Regions from separate parts of the Homo sapiens genome. Here regions 1, 2, 4 and 5 are each linked to region 3. The links are contacts of gene promoters, found by promoter capture Hi-C in blood cells and fetal thymus (Javierre and others, 2016). All regions are on one chromosome and are shown on one strand. Each heading gives the region's core, a stretch centred on a gene start or on the middle of the fragment in contact. The rest is flanking DNA. Distances are from core to core; before and after follow the strand shown.

Evidence for each region. The method cuts DNA at HindIII sites, captures the fragments that hold promoters and counts their contacts. A CHiCAGO score of 5 or more calls a contact.
Region 1: a contact is called between a fragment that was not itself captured here and the fragment with the promoter of ZNF45 in region 3, in 1 of 17 cell types (total CD4 T cells). The highest score is 9.4, in total CD4 T cells.
Region 2: a contact is called between a fragment that was not itself captured here and the fragment with the promoter of ZNF45 in region 3, in 2 of 17 cell types (activated CD4 T cells and total CD4 T cells). The highest score is 6.6, in activated CD4 T cells.
Region 4: a fragment that was not itself captured here is called in contact with the fragment with the promoter of ZNF45 in region 3 in 2 of 17 cell types (naive CD4 T cells and non-activated CD4 T cells); the score reaches 8.4 in naive CD4 T cells.
Region 5: a contact is called between a fragment that was not itself captured here and the fragment with the promoter of ZNF45 in region 3, in 1 of 17 cell types (non-activated CD4 T cells). The highest score is 6.5, in non-activated CD4 T cells.

The regions. Positions count from the first base shown.
Region 1 is chr19:37,419,363-37,422,062 of GRCh38, reverse strand. The region is part of intron 5 of ZNF569 (zinc finger protein 569); the gene reads left to right. Among named protein-coding and RNA genes, the nearest start is that of ZNF569, 47 kb to the left of the region's middle. The HindIII fragment of the contact is 3,084 bases long and covers 1-2,700 here.
Region 2 is chr19:37,442,591-37,445,290 of GRCh38, reverse strand. ZNF569 (zinc finger protein 569) reads left to right here. Exons shown (of 6, transcript NM_152484.3): 3 at 327-384. The coding sequence starts at 370. Among named protein-coding and RNA genes, the nearest start is that of ZNF569, 24 kb to the left of the region's middle. The HindIII fragment of the contact is 1,197 bases long and covers 694-1,890 here.
Region 3 is chr19:43,934,017-43,936,716 of GRCh38, reverse strand. It overlaps ZNF45 (zinc finger protein 45), which reads left to right and starts at 1,435. Exons shown (of 10, transcript NM_003425.4): 1 at 1,435-1,793; 2 at 2,023-2,291. ZNF45-AS1 (ZNF45 antisense RNA 1) reads right to left here. Exons shown (of 3, transcript NR_184050.1): 3 at 903-2,700. The HindIII fragment of the contact is 8,828 bases long and covers 1-2,700 here.
Region 4 is chr19:37,342,740-37,345,597 of GRCh38, reverse strand. All of the region lies in intron 2 of ZNF875 (zinc finger protein 875), which reads right to left. Among named protein-coding and RNA genes, the nearest start is that of ZNF875, 9.5 kb to the right of the region's middle. The HindIII fragment of the contact is 669 bases long and covers 961-1,629 here.
Region 5 is chr19:36,773,077-36,775,853 of GRCh38, reverse strand. LOC728485 (a long non-coding RNA gene) reads right to left here and starts at 2,701. Exons shown (of 2, transcript NR_164117.1): 1 at 2,345-2,701; 2 at 1-468. The HindIII fragment of the contact is 5,631 bases long and covers 1-2,777 here.

The sequences.
Region 1 (2,700 bases), core at 199-2,698, 6.5 Mb after region 3:
AATTTAAAGTGCTGGCCAGGTGTGGTGGCTCACGCCTGTAATCCTAACACTTTGGCAGGCTGAGGCCGGTGGATTGCTTGGGCCCAGGAGTTCAAGACCAGACTGGGCAACATGGTGAAACCCTGTCTCTACTAAAAATACAGAAATTAGCCGGATGTAATGGTGCATGCCTGTAGTCCCAGCTGCTTGGGAGGCTGAGACGAGAGGATTGATTGAGTCTAAGAGGTGGAGGTTGCAATGAGCTGAGATCACACTACTGCATCCCAGCCTAGGTGACAGAGCAAGACCCTGTCTCAAAAAAAAAAAAAAAAAAAAAAAAGTGCCACTACAGTATACACACAAATGATAAGATGATAAGAAAGCAAAATAGCCTTATTGTTGATAGGGAGAAAGTTTTAGTTGTCTGGGTAGAAGATCAAACCAGCCACAGCATTCCCTTAAGCCAAAGCATAATCCAGGACAAGCCCCTAATTATCTTCAATTCTATGAAGGCTTAGAGGTGAGGAAGCTGCAGAAGAAAAGTTTGAAGCTAGCAGAGGTAGGTTCATAAGGTTTAAGGAAAGAGCCATCTCCATAACATAAAAATACAAGGTAAAGCAGTAAGAGCCGATGGAAGCTGCAGTAAATTATCCAGAAGATCTAGCTAAGATTATTGATGAGGGTGGCTAACTAAACAATAGCGTTCCGATGTAGATGCAACAGCCTTCTATTGGAAGAAGATGCCATCTAGGACTTTCACAGCTAGAGAGGTGAAGTCAGTGGCTGGCTTCAAAGTTTCAAATGACAGACTGACCCTCCTGTTATGGGCTAATGCAGGTGGTGACTTTAAGTTGGAGCCAGTATTCATTTCCCATTCTGAAAATCCTAGGGCCCTTAGGAATTATGCTAAATACACCCTGCTCGTGCTCTATAAATGGAATAACAAAGCCTGGACGACAGCACATCTGTTTACAGCATTGATTTGCTAAATATTTTAAGCCCACTGTTGATACCTACTGCTCACGAGAAAAAAAAGTTCCTTTGAAAATAGTATTGCTCATTGACAGTGCACTTGGTCACCCAGGAGCTCTAATGGAGATGTACAAGGAGATCAGTGTTGGTTTTCATGCCTGCTAATACAACATCCATTCTGCAGCTCATGGATCAAGCAGTAATTTTGACTTTCAAGTCTTATTATTTACGAAATACATTCTGTAATGTAATAGCTTCCATAGGTAATGATTCCTCTGATGGATCTGGGTAAAGTAAATTAAAAAGTGTAAAAACTGGCTGGAAAGGATTTATGTTTCCAGGTGCTATTATGAATATTCATGACTCAGGAGAGGAGATCAGAATATCAACAGGAGTTTGAAAGAGGTTCATTCGACACTCATGGATGACTTTGAAGGATTCAAGGCTTCAGTGGAGGAAGTAATTGTAGATGTGCAACTAGCAAGAGAAGTAGAATTAGAAGTAGAGCCGGAAGATGTGACTGAATTGCTGCAGTCTCGTGATTGCAGGGATAAGGATTACTTCTTATGGGTGAACAAAGAAAGTCATTTCTTTAGGATCTACTCCTGGTGAAGATGCTGTGCAAATTGTGGAAATCAATGATTTAGAATATTCCATAAATATAATTGATAAAGCAGTGGTAGGATTTGAGAGGAGTGACTACAGTTTTGAAAGAAGTCCTACTGTGGGTAAAGTACTATCAAACAACATCACATGCCACAGAGAAACTTTTTGTGAAAGAAAAGTCAATCAATGTGACTCTTCATTGTTATCTTAAGAAATTGGGGCCGGCGCAGTGGCTCACACCTGTAATCCGAGCACTTTGGGAGGCCGAGGTGGGCAGATCACGAGGTCAGGAGTTCGAGACTAGCCTGGCCAACATAGTGAAACCCCGTCTCTACTAAAAACACAAAAAAAATTAGCCTGGCGTGGTGGCGCACACCTGTAATCCCAGCTACTCAGGAGGCTGAGGCAGGAGAATCGCTTGAACCTGGGAGGCAGAGGTTGCAGTGAGCAGAGATCGAGCCACTGCACTCTAGCCTCTGCACTCTTGCCTGGGCGACAGAGGGAGACTCTGTCTCAAAAAAAAAAAAAAAAAAAAAGAAAGAAAAGAAAAAAGAAATTGCTACAGCCACCCCAACTTTCTGTAATCCCCCCTTGATTAGTCAGCAGCCATCAACATTGAGATTGAGGAAGACACCTATCAGCAAAAAGATTATGACTCACTGAAGGTTCAGATGATTGTTAGCATTTTTAAGCAATATTTTAAAATTAAGGTGTACATTTTTTAGACATGATGCTGTTATATACGTAATAGACTAAGTATATAGTATTAAATTTTTTTTTTTTGAGACGTAGTCTCTCTTAGTTACCCAGGCTGGAGTGCAGTGGCATGATCTCGGCTCACTGCAACCTCCACCTCCCAGGTTCAAACGATTCTCCTGCCTCAGCCTCCCAGTAGCTGGGATTACAGGCGCCTGCCACCACGCCCGGCTAATTTTTTTGAATTTTTAGTAGAGACAGGGTTTCACCATATTGGCCAGGCTGGTCTTGAACCCCTGACCTCAAATGATTCACCCACCTCGGCCTCCCAAAGTGCTGGGATTACAGTCGTGAGCCACCGCACCCAGCCAACATAACTTTTATATGCACTGGGAAACCAAAAATGTTGTGTGACATGCTTTATTGTGGTGGTGTGGAACTGAACCC
Region 2 (2,700 bases), core at 43-2,542, 6.5 Mb after region 3:
AAATGTCTCAATACTTTAAAATACTTTAGGTGTTTTGTCAGTTTCATAATTTTCCTGCATATATGCTTTCATGATGCTACATGTATTCTCTGATACAGAGCTCCCACATACGCACCCCTGTTTCTATCCACCCTGTGCCCAAGCTCTGCATGATTATTCCAATCATCCTCACACCTATTAAGAACCTTTGTGGTATGAATATTCTTGGCATTTCTGATAGATTTAATTATCATTCCACTACAGGGTGACCTTTAATCCACCCTGTGTGTGCATGTTTCTGAAACTAAAGACAGGCCTATTTTAATGACTTTTATTCTCTTCCCCAGCTCTACTTCTGCAGGCCCCATCCCTTCCCAGAAAGAAGAGGAAATGACTGAGTCCCAGGTAAATGTTAAATAGTGTATTTGTTTCTTGCCTTACTCTCCAATGCAATTTAAGGGGATTGCAGTAATTCATACAGTAAATTATAAAGGTCTGTATACATAAAACATATTTTCAGGGGAAATAGAGTTGAACGATTAAAACTAGGGAAGAGTTAAAATGTGGGTATTTTATGAAATTCATTCAGAGAGATTAAAGCTGGGCTTCAAATTTAAATTTCCTTTTTACAGGTAAAGAAAACCAGAGCAAAAATTTGTTACATAATTTTCATTGTAACAATAAAAAATCAACATTTTCTAACAGAAATAAGCTTTTCATTGATACCTAGGTCAATGAAAACATTGTAGTGTTACTTCTTGTAGTTGATAAACCTAGCTCTTTTGATGTTCTCTTTCGATCAAGGATAAAACAAAGTGTAACTATCAAAATAGCCCAGCATTAGAAACAATGCAAATGAAAATTAACAGGAAAAGGAATAAATTATAGTATTTCACACGGTGAAATACTACTTAACAATAAAAAAGAACAGATGACTGTTACACGCAACAACCAACATGGATAGATTACACAAACATAGAATGAAAGAAGCCAGAAACAAAAAAGTATATATCATAGGGTTCCATTCATATAAAGTTGAAAATGGGCAAAACTAATGTATTGTGATAGAAGTCAGAATACTGGTTACCTCTGAGAGGGTATTTACTGTGAAACAGCATGAAGAAATCTGGAGGGGTGAAAATGTTCTGTATTTTGACTTACTGGTAGGTACCCATGTCTATAAATGTATACAGATTTATCAGATTTTATGCTTAAGACTAGTCCATTTTACCACATTACTCTATGCATGTCATACATAAATTTATTTATTTATTTACTTATTTATTTATTTTTTGAGATGGAGTCTTGCTCTGTTGCCCAAGCTGGAGTGCAATGGCACGATCTCAGCTCACTGCAACCTCTGCCTCCCGGGTTCAAGTGATTCTCTTGCCTCAGCCTCCATTGTAGCTGGGATTATAGGCACCCACCAGCACGCCTGGCTAATTTTTTTTTTTTTTTTGTATTTTTAGTACAGATGGGATTTCACCATGTTGGCCAGGTTGGTCTCAAGCTCTTGACCTCAAGTGATCCACCTGCCTTGACCTCCCACAGTGCTGGGATTATAGGTGTGAGCCACTGCGCCCGGCCCGTAAATTTAAAGAGAGAAAACTAGACTATCTTAAGAAAGAGGTGGGATGTGTGTCTTTCAGATGACCCTATGTAATTATCTTTTTCAATGGGCATTTGCTGCTGATTGAGCCACACTGTAATCATTTCTGGTAAATTCTTAAAATTTTAACCACTAGAATGTAAGCAGAGAGTGTGTTTTACTTTGTTTACTGCTGTATCTCCAGTACCTAGAAGATCACCTAGTACACTTGATATTCTGTGAATACTTGTGGTTTTCTTTCAGATTTATCCTACACTCTCAGATACTGAACATATTTTACTTTTTACCCTCAGCTCAAAGCTTTGCTCTTCTGAGATATACCTTTCTTTGACCGTGGTTTTTTTTGTTTGTTTTTTGTGTTTTGGAGTCTCACTTTTTGCCCAGGGTGGAGTGCAGTGATGCGATCTTGGCTCACTGCAACCTCTGCCTCCCAGGTTCAAGCAATTCTCCTGCCTCAGCCTCCCGAGTAGGTGGGATTACAGGCGTGCGCCACCATGCCCAGCTAATTTTGTGTTTTTAGTAGAGACAGGGTTTCACCCTGTTGGCCAGGCTGGTCTCCAACTCCTGACCTCGGGTTATCTGCCCGCCTCACAAAGGCTGGGATTACAGGCGTGAGCCTCAGCACCCGGCCGACCATGTATTTTTATCTGCCAGCTTCTATATATCTCCAGTTTCTTCCTCAGGCACACTCAGTTAATTTTCAAAATGAACATACCTGTGTAACACAGCGCACACACTCAGTGAAGAAATACAGAATTACCCTAGCACTCTAGGATACCTTTTCTATACTTCCTAGTCATCACCCCCACCCCAGGAGTGTTCAACTTTTATCACCATAAATTGTTTCTTCCTGTCTTTTAACTTTATATAATCTGTGTATTCTGTGTCTGGCTTTTGTTTAATATTATGTTTGTGAGATTCATCCATGTTAAATTGGTGCATCTAGTTGTAGTTCAGTTAATCTCATTGCTGAATATTATTATATTCTCTGATCAACATTTCCATGGATCTTATAATCCATGTCACTTCATTTCTTACCTGGAACTACTCTGGCAACTGCCTACTAATCTCCCTGTATCCACTCCTGACCATCTATAGTCCATTCTCCATAG
Region 3 (2,700 bases), core at 186-2,685:
AAATGGCATTGATGCAGGGCAGTTTCTTGGCTTTGCTCAGGAAAGAATTCAACAGCAAGCCAGCAGCGGAAGAAAGCAGGTTTATCGAATCAACAGTGTTAAAAGCTCAGTGACTGTTCCTTGCAGACCAAGACTAGCCCACAGGCAGTGTGCCCAGAGTAGCAGCATATGGGCTGTTGGCTGGGTATATTTATACCAACTTTTCATTACATGCAAATTAAGGGGTGAGTTACTCGGAAATCTCTAGAAAAGGGGTTGGTAACTTCCAGGTGTTGCCATGGCATTTATAAACCGTCACGGCGCTGGTGGGAGTGTCTTATACTGATAGGTAGCAAAGGGAACTTACAGGTTGCTTTCCATCACTTGCTGGTTTCAGCAGGTTTCTTATCTGATCTTGGAATCACGCCCTGCTGGTCTCCTGCCTCAGCCTAAATTGAACATTGTTCAGATGTTTACAGCTACTCCTATGTAGTCAACTTCCATTTTTTCTTCTTTACCCTTTCATAATAAACTTGGAAAAATATTTAGTTTCTACCTAGGAGAAAAGTGAATAGTATAGCTTTCTGTATTTTTTGCACTTCATGTCTTAATCCCTCACTTCACCTCCCTCTCCTTACTGAATATTCATAGACACTTTGGCAAATCATAAGACACCTTTACAGATTCCTGATTCTGAGAGCAAGAAGTGATGTGATTCCTTAATCTGAACTGAATGTTTTCAAGATTTTATATAGGATAGAGCCTATTCAATACTATAATACTTTCTTCAGTATCCTGCGAATGAAAGAAAACTAAGCGCAAGAAAAGTGGAGAATTTTGCTGCTTTTGTTTCATGTCCTGCTGGATGATTGCATCTCCTTTTTTGAGCATTTTTAATCACAGATGAATCCATACCCATATTATAAAAGGCTTGTTGCTCTGGGCGGCTCTGGCCACCTCTTTTATTACCTCTGTTTTTAGCTCACACATAGCATTCCTTTGTATTTTCCTTTTTTTTTTTCATATTCGCAACTTCTGTCACGTATAAAAGGGAACAATGGCAAAAGGAAAAAGCAGGCTGAGCTCTACAAGCAATGACTTAGACTCCCCCCGCTAATTCAAAAGGAAAATTGCAGGCTGGCGGGAAGCTCAGCCCTACAGAGGATTCTGGGACGTGTGGTCCAGACTTTTGGGGGCACTTCAGCTCTGGGAAAGCGCGGCTTTGTTATTTGCTCCCCTGGGGAAATAGGAACCTATACCCCAGTGCTCAGTGGGTTCGGTGGTACTTCGACTATTTGAGGACGAGAACACGAAGCCCGCTCCCCTTGGGGATTCTGAGAAATAAGATTCGGCCGTGGGAGTCGAAGCCCGCACTTCCGCCCAGGGGGCGGGGCAGCGGCTTCCGTTCCTCCCGGGGATGCTGGGAAATGTAGTTCCAGAGCTCCCTGCTCTCCCGGGCACTTCCGCGGCAAGAGGTTGAGAGCGCGGCCTTCATTCCTCTCGTGGAAGTGAGTGAGTCCTGGGACCCCGCGACCTGTTTTAACTTTTATGGTTTGGTCGTAGGATCAGCAGGGCTCGCACTTCGGTCAGCAGGAAAAGACGCTGCGGCGAGCAGCGGAGGGCGGAGTTGAATGGCTGGGCAGCTGATTGCCTTACTGTATCCGGAGCTGCTGCGTTCGGGGCGGTTCGGGAGTCCCCTGGTTGGAAGTGGACCTGAATGGGGAGGCGTCTGAGGATCTCCTGGGCTCTCAGCGGCCCGACCCGCCTTCCCCCACCTCCCACAGCTCTGTAGCTTCCTAGCGGTGTAACGTTGGGTGAGAACTTAATCTTTCGGTGCTTAGTTTCTGGTCTTAGTTTCCTCTTCTGCAAAAGGAAATATTAACCTTATATATTTGTTTTGACAATTAGTAATATAGTACAAGTAAAATGTGTATGGAATAGTACAGGAATGTGGCAACATGTCGGCCGTTAATATTAAAACTATCATAATAAAAAATATTCATTTTTCAGCAAGCGCCTGGCTCTTCTTTCTGATTCCTGCAGGAAAGGAGGCTGTTCTTGGACTATGCCTGACCCGTTTTTTAAGAAAGAGTGCATCACTCAACAGGTGGCGTCTGGAGTTATCCTCTGTGGATTTTCCAGGATCTCAGACAAGATCGTGCAATCTCCCAGCCTCCTTTCCTTCCCCTGCCCTGACTTCTGAAAGAATGCTGCGGGAGAGGAGGAAGGAGAGCATCCTGGCTTCTGGCAGCAGAGCCCCACTGTGACAGGACCTAGCATTCACCTTCCTCTTCTGTTCCGAGTGCGAGAAGGTATTTCATTCCTTGCAAATGTTTCTGCTACAGAAGTGTTCCGTTATTGTATAATTGGAGAAAATGTGACATGAATATTAGTCACACTAGTTAAACATTGGGTGCTGAGTATCACTCTGAGGGCTTTATAAAAACTAACACACTGAACCTTCACAAAGGCCTTGTGTTGTGGGTTCTGTTCACCTTACAAAGGTGATGTGGGTATTGTGATATGGGTACTGTTATTACACCAATTATACAGATGAGGAAATGGAGAGAGCCTAATTTACTTTCCTATATCACAGTGCTAGTAAGAACAGTGGGATTTGTGTCCTAGACTTGGGTTCCTTACATCTGAATACCCTTGGTCTCACAGTTTGAAATCCCAATTTAGAATTAGGAAATAAAATAGATAAATGATCCATATAAA
Region 4 (2,858 bases), core at 46-2,545, 6.6 Mb after region 3:
TCTATCAGCCGCAACACACTATTGGAGACTGCCTCACCAGCGTCATTCATTTAGGTACATGCCTTGTCTCTTTGATTTTGCATCCCCTTCTCAGAATGCCTCCATCACTCCTTGAGGGTATGACATTGTGTCTCTAAAACTAATTCCACACTGTACCCTTCCCAGGGAATCCTCCCTACATTTCCTGTCCCCTACCAGCTCCACTATTCTACACTGGCTGGACTATGAAATGGCCTTAAGACTCTACCTACACTCAGTTATATCGATAGCTGTCCCCAAACCCAGCCAGTCCCAATGTACTTAATCGCAAGAGAAGAGCACAGATGAGTGAGGGCTTTGGTTCTCATACCTCATCTCTCTCTGGCTATATTTTAGAGCTACCTGGGTGGTGTTTTAAATTATGGATTCTTGAGTCCCACCACAAATCCGTAAAACCAGGGGATGGGGCTTTTGTACTTTCAAAGGCTCCTAAAAGTAGTGTGATGGTTGTGAATCACTGGGTCAGAGTAATCTCAAGAGGGAGAGGTCACTGTAGGATTGAGGATCAGGAAAAGTTCATGAGAAGGAGGTACTCACTGAGAATCTAGGTGATGGGTATGTGAGTGTTCAATGTACAAGGCTTCCTGGTTTTTTCCATATGTCTGAAACTGTTCATCATTAAACACTGGAGAGAAAAAGGCTATTCAGGTATCTGCCTAGTCCCTGTTGTGATTTGCTTTTACAACCCCTTCTCAGAACATACACACATACACCCCTTGAAAATCTCCCACGAAGGAGCTACATCACAGAGCAATTAGTGTTACTTTAACACATTTAATACAACCGTTATTCCTCCAGCCCCGGAACAACTCATGGTTTGTCTGTGAACCATGCATGTAGGGAGCATTGTAGACACTGTGTGGTTGACCCTCATGATTCACTCCAAATCTCTCCCACTGAGTAGAAACACAGCTAGAAGCTTGGGGGAGTTAATTCATCTGCTTGCCAGCTGAAAAATAAATATATGAAAAATGAATGGTAACCAACAGGCCACAAGAAGCCTTACCGTAGGATTCTAGCAAAAGACTTCGTCATTTGTAAGATGGAGTCACAGGAATTAAGCACTTTTCCTGATGCTCAGAAACATGGGCACAGATTACCCAAAAGAGGCAGCAGGGCTTAGTGCACTGGCTCAATGTGTGTTCCCTGAACCTGCAGCACCAGCATCCCCTGGGAACTTGTTAGAAATAAAAATTCTCAGTCCCCATCCTAGGGCTACTGAATCAGAAATTGCGGGGGGAGCCCAGCAATGTTTGAACAAGGCTTCCAAGTAATTCTGATGCACACTAAAGTTTAACAACTACTCAGTGGCTAAAAGCACAAACTCTGGAGACAAACTGTGTTCAAATTACAGTCCCCTCTCTCCTCCCTCCCCTATGACTTTGCGTTGATATCTTAATATCTGTGTCTCAATTTCCTATAAAATCGATATTATAATAGTACTTACCTTATGGGGCCATTGTGAGAATTAAACAAAGTTGCTATTGGCAGACATCCTATGGCTTTGAGGGGAACCAGCCTGGATGAGGCTGACACTGTAGAGAACAGGGTAGACTGCAGAGATGAAAGCACCCCAGTCCTTGGGAAGCTTATGGAGCTGAAGGACCAACCCCAAAGTGCACTCTCTCTGTGAACTTCTTTTTATATAGGCTAAGTTACTTATTGTTTAGAACAGCCTAAATTAGGTTTACTGTTGCTTGCGGCCAAAAGCATTGTATCTAACCAGTGGATGGGTACAGTGATGGCCCCAGTGAATCATGCCTCCCTGTTTCTACCCTTCATGCAGTCTCCTCCTAAATTAACCCTGGGCTTGGCCATGGGACCTGCTTTATCCAGTGGGACACCAGCAAACATGATGCAAGCAGATGTTTGAGAGGCATCTGAGTTCAGGGCTGGCCTTCTCGCTGTGCAAGAAACCTTGAGACCACCATGTGAATAACCTGAGCTTGCCTGCTGAAGAGGCCACATGGAGAAGAACCAGGAATTGAAGCATCCCAGCCAACCAAGCTGTCAACCACCAGACAGGTTGAGACCATCCAGCTGTAGCTGAGCAGCCAGCTAACTACAGCCACATGAGGATGCCAAGAGGATCAGCTCAGCCATGCCGGGCCTACTTGCTGACCCACAGGATTTTGAAAAAATGATTTCATTTTAAGCTGCTAAGTTTGTTTGGTTTTTTTTTTTTTTTGGTTTTATTTTATTTATTCTTTATTTTTTGGAGATAGTCTCACTCTGACACCTAGGCTGGAGTGCAATGACGTGGTCTCGGCTCACTGCAACCTCTGCCTCCTGGGTTCAAGCGATTCTCCTGCTCCCGCCTCAGCCTCCCAAGTAGCTGGGACTACAGGTGTGTACCACCACACCCGGCTAATTTTTGTATTTTTAGTAGAGACGGGGTTTCACTATGTTGGCCAGGCTGGTCTCGAACTCCTGACCTCATGATCCGCCCGCCTCGGCCTCCCAAAGTGTTGGGATTACAGGTGAGAGCCACTGTACCAGGCCTAAGCCGCTATGTTCTTTAGGCCACTAAGTTGGTACACAGAAGTGAAGTGCTGCCATAACAAAATACCTAAAACATGTGGCATTAGCTTTGGGAGCAGGACATGGGCAGAGGCTTGGAAAGCATCCAGGAAAACTATTAGCACAGGCTGGAAAACCAGTAAACAAACTGCTAGTGGGGACTGGGAAAGGAGTGATGAAACTGATATGGCAGCTTGAACAAGGCAACTAGTATTATATATTAGCAAAGCTATTGCCTGCATGAACTTGGAAAACAGAAAATATACCTGATGAATTTTTGGATCTAGCTAAAGAGATCT
Region 5 (2,777 bases), core at 173-2,672, 7.2 Mb after region 3:
TCCCAACGGTATCTGGCTGCAAATCACGGCGGGAGCGCCTCGGGCCTCTTGTCTTTTGACCCTGTCCTTGGAACCCGAGGAGACTTGCCGTTCCCGGGGGAGGGTGTGTGTGAGTCGGGCGGCGGAGGCCGTCTACGCCATTGTAGGGGCGGGGGGAGCCGAGATTAGAGCATCAGCCTGAGAGAAGTGGTGCTTCTGGTTCTCCGCTCTGCCTCGCATCTTTCAGCGAGGCCTCGTACCTCAGTTTTCCCATCCGTGAAGTGGAGCTGGGCCTGCCTGACTCATTCATTCATCAGGTGGAGGCCTTGACGCTCTAGGAGCCCTTTCAAAGGACTTTGCCTTACACGAAATAGTACCTATCGTTATTCACTCTGCAGTAACCACCCGGATTTGAGTGGCGGGTGTTTGCACAGTAATTCAGTTTCCTCTTCACCCTCCTGCCATTCGTCTTCCCCTCCAGTTTATCTCCTGAAAGAGTTTGAAATCAGCCTTGTCTATTATTGATAAACTCCTGTAGGTGTATTTGGTATTTCCCTTAAAACATGCAGACCAAAGGAAAGGCAATATTTTCCCCCCACGAAGCAGTTAACTTGGTAGAGGCCAGCCGTTGTATGGAAGAGAAAGAGAGTCTCTTCAGGACAGGCAGTTTGGATCCTGCTAAACCAGAATAAAAAATCTAGAACATGGGCCGGGCGAGGTGGCTCACGCCTGTAATCCCAGCACTTTGGGAGGCCAAGGCGGGCGGATCACGAAGTCAGGAGATCGAGACCATCTTGGCTAATACGGTGAAACCCCGTCTCTACGAAAAATACAAAAAATTAGCCGGGCGTGGTGGCGGGCGCCTGTAGTCCCAGCTACTCAGGAGGCTGAGGCAGGAGAATGGCTTGAACCCGGGAGGCGGAGTTTGCAGTGAGCCGAGATCACGCCACTGCACTCCAGCCTGGGCGACAGAGCAAGACTCCGTCTCAAAAAAAAATAAATAAATAAAAATCTAGAACATGGATGTCCCCTTGCTTTAGCAGACCTAGCTGATCACACAAGGTCCTGTATTGTTAGGCTGCATCACAGGCCGCAAAGACCCAGGTATCTATCCAGTTGTTAGAAACCATCCTGAGAGTTAGATACCACTTTTCTGTTGGAAATACAGACCATTTCCTGAAGCCGTATGGTTGAGGTAAAACAGGCCTTTTGCAGTCTTATATTTTGAGTAAGGCCAAAACTGCCTAGTGTTACAAAACCAGACAAAAAGCCCAGGTACCCAGTCTTGCAGGATAGAAATGTGTGACTAAAATGAAGCATCGATCTGAGAAGACTACAAATGAGCGGGAAAGATTGGACAGGAGCATGCTATACATTATTTAGATTAATGTTGATATTTAAGGAGCCAGGATATTGGTTTGTTTTTGAGGGGTGCCCATCTACTTTATGTAAGAAGCTATAAACTACACTTCTTTCAGTTTCTGCTTAATCCTTGCTCAAACAAGGAATAATTTCTTATTCCAAAGTAGACATTGGTACATCTTTTACTAGGTACATAATTTGGGATGAAGTCTGATAAAGCTCCTTAGAAGTACTTACAGTACACCCTCACAAGGGTGTACCATCTACCCATGGTTTAAACAGAAATTAAAATTCTACCTTCGTGGAAAAATTTGCCAAGTTTTAATGGATTCAGTGCTCATTAAAAACTTTTAGCCTGTCTTGATCTTTAACATAATTATTGGTGTGAAACAATGGCTTCTGTGGAAAATTAAAGTTTTAGTGGTTTGCTATTTGTGAAATACAGGCTTTTTCATGTATCATATTAGCATATAAGCTGGCTTAATCATTAGTACTGATCTTCAAGTTACTAAGACACCAGATATTTGTTACTTTGTAATTTGAGTTTTTAAAAAAATTCCGAAATTGGCTTTTCGATGTGTGAAAAGGACTACTTATTAGATGCTTGTTTTTAAATTTACATTCAATTAATTAAAGCTAGACTCTTTATATTCTTAGGCTTGGTATACTATTTGTATGTTTTGTAGTAAGTGTATAAAAATAATACCTTTGACTTTGTATAAAAAAAATCTTTCTTGCTTTAAAAGCCATGTTGGATTTGCATTCTAGACCGTAATAAATATAACTACTTTAACATAAAAATCTATTTATGTTGTTTATCAGATATTAGGGGTTTTTTTCCCTCTCCTGTCAACCTCCAAATAAAATCGATGCTCCAGAATGATGCCCTCTTATCATAATTTTACAAATACCTGGCTCCAAGGTTACTACCTGATACAAAAATACAATGCTGGTCTCCCAAACAGGCAACTCACATTGACACTCACACAGCTTCCACTCACACCTGCGATCACAAGGCAGCATCTTCGGGCCCTCGTCGGCCACGATCCGCTCCCAGAGAGCATTCGCGCACAATCTTATCCCATCCACGATTTTGATTCCTTTTCTCCCACTTCTTCAACCCTATCCGGGACGAGACCATCAGGTCCCACCTCCACCTTCACCTTCATTTTCCGCGCAATGCAGACTGAGCCCTGGACTCACCCATATACAGATTGAATTGTCCGGTCAGTGTTTCATCCCCTCTGCATTCTGAGGGCGAGTTAGCATCTGGGTGCATGAGTTCCAAACTAACAGCCAGGACCAGGCTTGGAGCCAAGAATCCTTTGGCTCGCATCGTGGCTGGGTTGACCGCTTTTCTGCCCTGGACTACATTTCCCATCGGTTCTACCGTTCGGGGCTACTTCCGCCGAGAACCGGAAGCACGTTTTCCTGTG